2 separate regions of the Homo sapiens genome follow, and region 2 is linked to region 1. The links are contacts of gene promoters, found by promoter capture Hi-C in human tissues and cell types (Jung and others, 2019). All regions are on one chromosome and are shown on one strand. Each heading gives the region's core, a stretch centred on a gene start or on the middle of the fragment in contact. The rest is flanking DNA. Distances are from core to core; before and after follow the strand shown. Region 1 holds the start of ADPRHL1 (ADP-ribosylhydrolase like 1). Region 2 overlaps PCID2 (PCI domain containing 2).

Region 1 (3,077 bases), core at 308-2,807:
GCGGGCCTGGCAGGACCAGACCCACAGCCATGGACGCTGCCATTTACAAAACGCCCACCAAGTGCTACCAGAAATGGGACATGCAGAGCTGGTATGAGCGCACACACGGCATCAGACGCCCAGAGGAAGCCAAACTCAAGAGTGAGCTCCAGCCGTCTACGGTGAAAACAAGCCGGAGCTGTGTCCCACAGGTGTCTGTGTGTGGGGTGCACCTGTTCTGGGCTGCGGGGCACAAGCATGGGGTTGCTGGTCCTAAGGGCACACGAGTGGCCGCCTGGAAAACCAGAAGCAGGAGCTCCTGGACGCCAAGGCTGTGAACAGTCGGACGCCTCCCCGTCTCCAGCAAGCCGGGAGCCTTATCTTATCGCCGGCGCTTCAGCTCTCCCGTTATTTAGGGACCGGCCACAGGCTCGATGGCATTCCTCTGCTGTGAGCACAGAACTAAACTGGGCACGTCCATGGCAGATGAACAGAATGGTGGAGTGAACGCATAAGTGAGATTTCATTGACTTAGCTGCAGCCCTCAGATTTTAATTCTGCCATGATAAACAGCACCCACGGGGTTTTGAAGAGCAAATGCCTCGTAGGAAAGCTGGACTGCATGTCTGTGCACCTGCCATTTCCCTGAAATTCATGCAAAAGCTTGATCCTAAAATCAATTTGCTACTTAAAGGTATTTTAAGAAGCTTTGTCTCCAATCTCGTCCAATCAAGTTTATGTCATTTTCTTAGAACACATTTGTGTATGGGCAACTCTCCAAGCTGAACCATTTTGGGAGATGATATTCTAACTTTAATTCATTGGAATTTAGAACTAATCCCCAAACAGTATTAATGGGTTCACATTTCAAACTGGCTTATTTTACATCCCTTTGTAATGAATTCAGAACAAGAAGGCTTAATCTCTGCAGCGAGAAGTGAGCCCTCACCCTACTCCCACCAGCACGGCCGAGAGAGGCTTCACTGGCTTTAACTCTATTAGAAACAGAAGGTGCTAGGCCTAGTTAACGCTTTACAAATACAAGTGAAAAGTCACGTTTAAAAACTGAATCTTAATAACTGCAAAGTAAAGTAATACTGTCACCCTCAGAGAAACCACAGGAGAAACGTGATCTGCCGCATATCAAATTTGAGGGACACTCAGATTAAATTGCCACTTTTAGCAGCGGTATCAGGTAACACCATCCGCTGAAGGACCGCACTGCCTTCAAAGCTCTCGGAGGCTTACTGGGAGAACTCGAGCAGCCAGTGTTCCCTCCAGCCCGCACACCGGAGCGCGGTGGGCCCAGCCTACCTGTGGTGAGGGCCTCGGCGGTTGCGATGTGCATGATGGTGTTGTCACTCACGGGCCATTCTCCTGGCGAGAGTACGAGGTGGTCCAGGCCCCCGGAACGTTGCAGCTCCTCCTGGATCTTCATGCCTACAGTGCTGTTCTCCTTGCAGACATTTCTGTAGCCAAGAGCATCGCCGACGCTCCCCAGCAACATCGCAGCCTTAAATTTCTCCATCCCAGGAGGCAGCTCCTCTTCCCCAACAGCTGCGGAGCGTCCTGGCCTTTGTCTCCTCCTCAGCCCGCCTGACTTTTATAGTGGTCACTGTGTCACTGTCAGGAGCGTCCTCTGATGGCCAGGCGCTCCTTGTCTATCTCTGCAGGTGGCACCAATGAGAGGACCTTTCTGTCCCCCACGTGGGAGGTGTCAGTTTTCTTCTGCGTCTGGACAGGCACCAGCTCCTCAGCAGAGGAGCCTGCTAGCTTCTGCCGGCAGCCGCAGCACATTCAGAGCGTTGACAGAGCAGGGGCTCCTCTCGCTGTCCCTGGAAGGAGTGCGCACACTTCCCCGTGTGTGGCGTGGGGTGATGCGGGAGCAGATGTGTGCAGGCGTGCCTGTCACTGCCGCCCGCTGCGGGGCGTGCCCTCACCCCTCGGGCAACAACCCATCTGCTGTCTCTACAGTTCTGCCTTTCCTGGACATTTCAAATACAATGTGTGGCCTTCGGTGTCTGGCTTCCTTCACTCAACATAATGTTGAGATTAATCTGTGACATGCGGTTTTATCATTTAGAAAACTTTTCGATTATGAAATGTGTTTTTGATAGAAAACTTTTAAAAAATGCAGTGTAGAGGGAACAAAGTCTATCTAGCTCCTGTGTGAACAATGACGGTGTCTTCTCAGCATGCGGTGTTTAACGGCTCCCAAATAATTGGACTGCACTGAGGGGGAAAGTCGTCAGCAAACCGCAGGCTTCACTAGAACCTCCCATCCGGCCCTCGGTCAGCTCAGTGTATTTACATCATCCCTGCTAGCTCATGAAAAGAATATTAAAAAATATGGAGACGGGGGGTGAGGCAGAATGCACACAGCCAGGGTTCCTGGTTTGAAATAAATTAGGAAAACAGTCCATCTCCCGACCCCACCCCAGGACAGTTCTCCGCAGAGGCCGGGAGCCCAGCAGGGCTGTGTCTCTCCCGTCTCCTTCCTCGGGGCCTGGTTTCCATCAGACCCAGGGGAAGCAAAGAGTTACACCTGGACTGAAGAAATGCGTCTGATAAAAACTCTCGTAGTGTACAGCGAGACAGTAGGAAGCATTTAACCGCCTGGCGTTATATCAGCACTTGTTAAAACGGAGGATCTCAAGCAGTGAGTTCACCTCACCCTCCACTGTCTGCTGGTGGAGGCAGCCATCAGCACAGTCATGCCAGCTAGCATGATCCTGAGATTCAGAAACAAACTTCAAAACCAGCATGCAGGCCGGGCGCGGTGGCTCATGGCTGTAATCCCAGCACTTTGGGAGGCCGAGGCGGGCGGATCCCCTGAGCTCAGGATTTTGAGGCCAGCCTGACCAATATGATGAAACCCCGTCTCTACTAAAAATACAAAAATTAGCCGGGCATGGTGGTGGGCACCTGTAATCCCAGCTACTTGGGAGGCTGAGATAGGAGGATCACTTGAACCTAGGAGGCAGAGGTTGCAGTGAGCCGAGATCACGCCATTGCACTCCAGCCTGGGCAACAAGAGCAAAACTCTGTCTCAGAAACAAACAAACAAACAAACAAAACTCCAAAACAAAAAACAGCAT
Region 2 (3,077 bases), core at 203-2,702, 260 kb before region 1:
TCTCATGGCTGTTTACAGAAAAGCTCTGGGCAGCTGTCTGAGCTGTGAGCTGAACTAGCTGCTTCTTGCAGAACAGAAGACAGGCAGACACAGCTACCCAGGCTTGGGCATCTGGCTGACCATATTCTCCAAAACGAATAGAACAAATCTGTCACTTCCAGGCAAACAACTGATGGTACTCGTTGCCAATGACAACATTTGTGCTTTCAAGAAAAACCAGAATTCTGGAAAACTTTTATGAACTACTGTGAGCTTAGCAGCTTTTCCTTACTCCAAGGCTTTTCTGATGAGGCCCCTGGAGATGTTAAGGAAGGTAGGGGTTTGGGGGTTGGGTTTTTAACAGTGGTATATCAGCACTTGGGAGGTGCTGCATGGCTCAGTAAGCTAATATACTCCAAATGGTCTGCTATGGTCTGAATGCTTGTGTCCCCTCCAAAACTCATGCTGAAATCCTAACCCTCAAAGTGACGGTGTTTGGAAGAGAGGCCTTTGGAAGGTGATGAGGTCATGAAGGTGAAGCTGTCATGAATGGGAAAGAGAGATCCCTTGCCCCATCTACCATGTGCAGACACAGCAAGATGCTATGAGCCAGGAAGCGGCCCTCTTCATCAGAAACTCAACTTGATCTGGACCTCCCTGCCTGACTTGATCTGGACCTCCCTGACTTGATCTGGACCTCCCTGCCTCCAGAACTATGAGACATAAATGCTTGTTGGTTACAAGCCAACCCAGTTTATAGTATTTTCTTATAGCAGCCCAAATGGACTAAGACATGACTAACACAAGATATTACGAAATCCATTCAGTGCTTTAGGCAGACCAGTGGATTTCAGTGTAAAGGTAGAAAAAGTTTATTGGTACACTTCAGAAGCCACATTGTAACTAACCTTTTTAAAAAAAAAAAACTGCCTCTTGGAGTTTTCCTATATAGAGTCAAAGAATTATCTCAATGGTCTGGAAAGCCTATGAGAATATTCCTCTCTTTTCCATCTACAACTTTGTGATGTAGCCTTTCACCATCAGGCAGAGAAACACTTTACTCAAAACAGTGTACTGCAACAGAGTAAGTGCAGAAGCAGGCAAGGGGACCAGATTGCCTCTGCTGAACTAGACATCAAAGAGGTCAAAAGTGATGTGACACTACTTTTCTTAGTATTTTGTTTTGGAAATATAGTTATTTTTTATTTAAAAAGTCAGTTATGTTACATGTAAAAGGTTTATTATTGTTGCTTTAAAATGAATATTTTAAAATCTTTTCTAATTAAAATTTCTAATACAGTAAATATAAATAGATATAACAAAAATAAAAGCTTTCTGAGGTCTTCAGTATACTTTTCAGTTCTAAAATTTCCATTTGGTTCTTCTTTATATCGCCTATTTCCTTGTTGAGACTTTAAATGTTTTCATTTGTTTCAAGCATGTTCTAAATTGCTTGCTGAATCAAGAGGGCTGTTTAAAACTCTTGTCACATAATTCCAACATTTGTACAATCTCAGCCTTGGTGTCTTCTGCTGAATGTTTTTTCTCATTTGAAATCTCTGAAAGTTGAGATTTTCCTGGTAATCAGTGTCGATTAGATCCCGGACATTTGAGGCACTACCTGACGAGACTATGGACTTTATTTATCTTGTTTAGCAGGCCTCACCATGCAAGCAGAGAAACAGGTGCATCCCCTTAGCCACTGAGTCGGGGAGGTCTAGGTCCCCTGCTTAGCCTCTGACATCCACCTGGTGGGGAGGGGGACTAGCTCCTCATTACTGCTAGCCCAGGGTGGAGGTCCTGGGCCACCCCCAGTCCGCACCACTTTGCAGATGGGGTGGGACGGACCTGCTGACTTCTTTGCGCCTGGCACTGGAGTGAGGCAGTGACGGTCAGAGTTCTGTCTTGCTGGATTGGACTGTCTTCCCAGCCTCCTGGTTTCCTTGGGGCTTTTTGTCTCTGCCTGATGGTGAAAGGCTTCAGGTTTCTAACGCGCCCAGTCCAGGACAGACAGGAGACAAAAAGGAAACCTGGAGACTCCCTACACGTGACTCTGAGCCCCATCCCCCTCTTCTCTCCACCTCCCATAGCCATGCCGGCCTGACAACTCCCAGGGTTTTAACTGTTTCTAGCAGGCACAATAGGGTGAAATCCATTGCATCCTGACTGGAACTGAAGTCAACAATCATTTCTAAAACTGTAAAGGGGTCGTCCTAAAACCAAAAGGTTGACAAATGCTGCTCCATAATGGGGACTTCCGTGGGTCCCCATGGGGACGTCGCCTCCATAAAACCCAGGATCTCCCTTCACCCCAGGGAAGCCCCCTCCTACTGCCCAAATCTATATGAAGCTGAATTCTTTTTGGTGGGGGAGCAGGCCACATCTTAAAGGTAGAAGAGATGCAGAATAAGCTCATTTGTTGTTGTTCCACTCACTTCATAAAAATAACACATACCATAAATGGTTAACCACAAAATGGAACCTCTCCCTCTATATGAACAGTGTGGAAATCTGAGCAAATGTTTATATAAATCTGTTGGTGTTAACCCAGAAAGAATAGTCAATATCTTTCTTTTGCTCCCTATACCAGACACATCTCAACTCCAATTTGCTCCTCAAAACTTCTGGGAAGAATGACATGAAATTAAACAACAGATAGTCACCAAGTTTTAGTTTTAAAATAATAATGACAGCAAATTAAACTTACATTATTGGCAAACACTCGAAGGTCAAGCGCTACTGCATACATGACAGGCAGAGCCCTGCAGGGCAAAAAAGTAAACAAGTGTGAGGGGCTACGTGGGCCAAGATTCCATCCCCAGAGGTGGGAAGAACACGGACACCCAGGGCTACTATCCAGAATGGAGTCCGCACTTATCCAAAACTCTGACAGTTGTCTGCTTCCTCACCTTCTGTCCAGGCAGGCTGCAGGCCTCAGACTTCCTGATCATCCTGGGGCCCCACAATGCGGTGCTCCACACCCCTGTCCCCAACCCTGTCAGAGACCTCAGCCCTGCTTCAGTTCTGGGCTCCCAGGATATCCTCCTCCCCTCAGCTTCCCACCAGTATCCAAACAGCACCACTAAAAAAGAAGTGGT

Evidence for each region. The method cuts DNA at HindIII sites, captures the fragments that hold promoters and counts their contacts. A contact is called where the count stands out against the background at its distance.
Region 2: a fragment that was not itself captured here is called in contact with the fragment with the promoter of ADPRHL1 in region 1 in 1 of the 25 tissues and cell types used here (dorsolateral prefrontal cortex).

Annotation. Positions count from the first base shown.
Region 1 is chr13:113,451,931-113,455,007 of GRCh38, forward strand. It overlaps ADPRHL1 (ADP-ribosylhydrolase like 1), which reads right to left and starts at 1,558. Exons shown (of 8, transcript NM_001394807.1): 1 at 1,294-1,558. The coding sequence starts at 1,507. RefSeq lists an enhancer at 1-91. The HindIII fragment of the contact is 9,965 bases long and covers 1-3,077 here.
Region 2 is chr13:113,192,385-113,195,461 of GRCh38, forward strand. It overlaps PCID2 (PCI domain containing 2), which reads right to left. Exons shown (of 14, transcript NM_001127202.4): 6 at 2,687-2,741. Among named protein-coding and RNA genes, the nearest start is that of PCID2, 15 kb to the right of the region's middle. The HindIII fragment of the contact is 3,442 bases long and covers 1-3,077 here.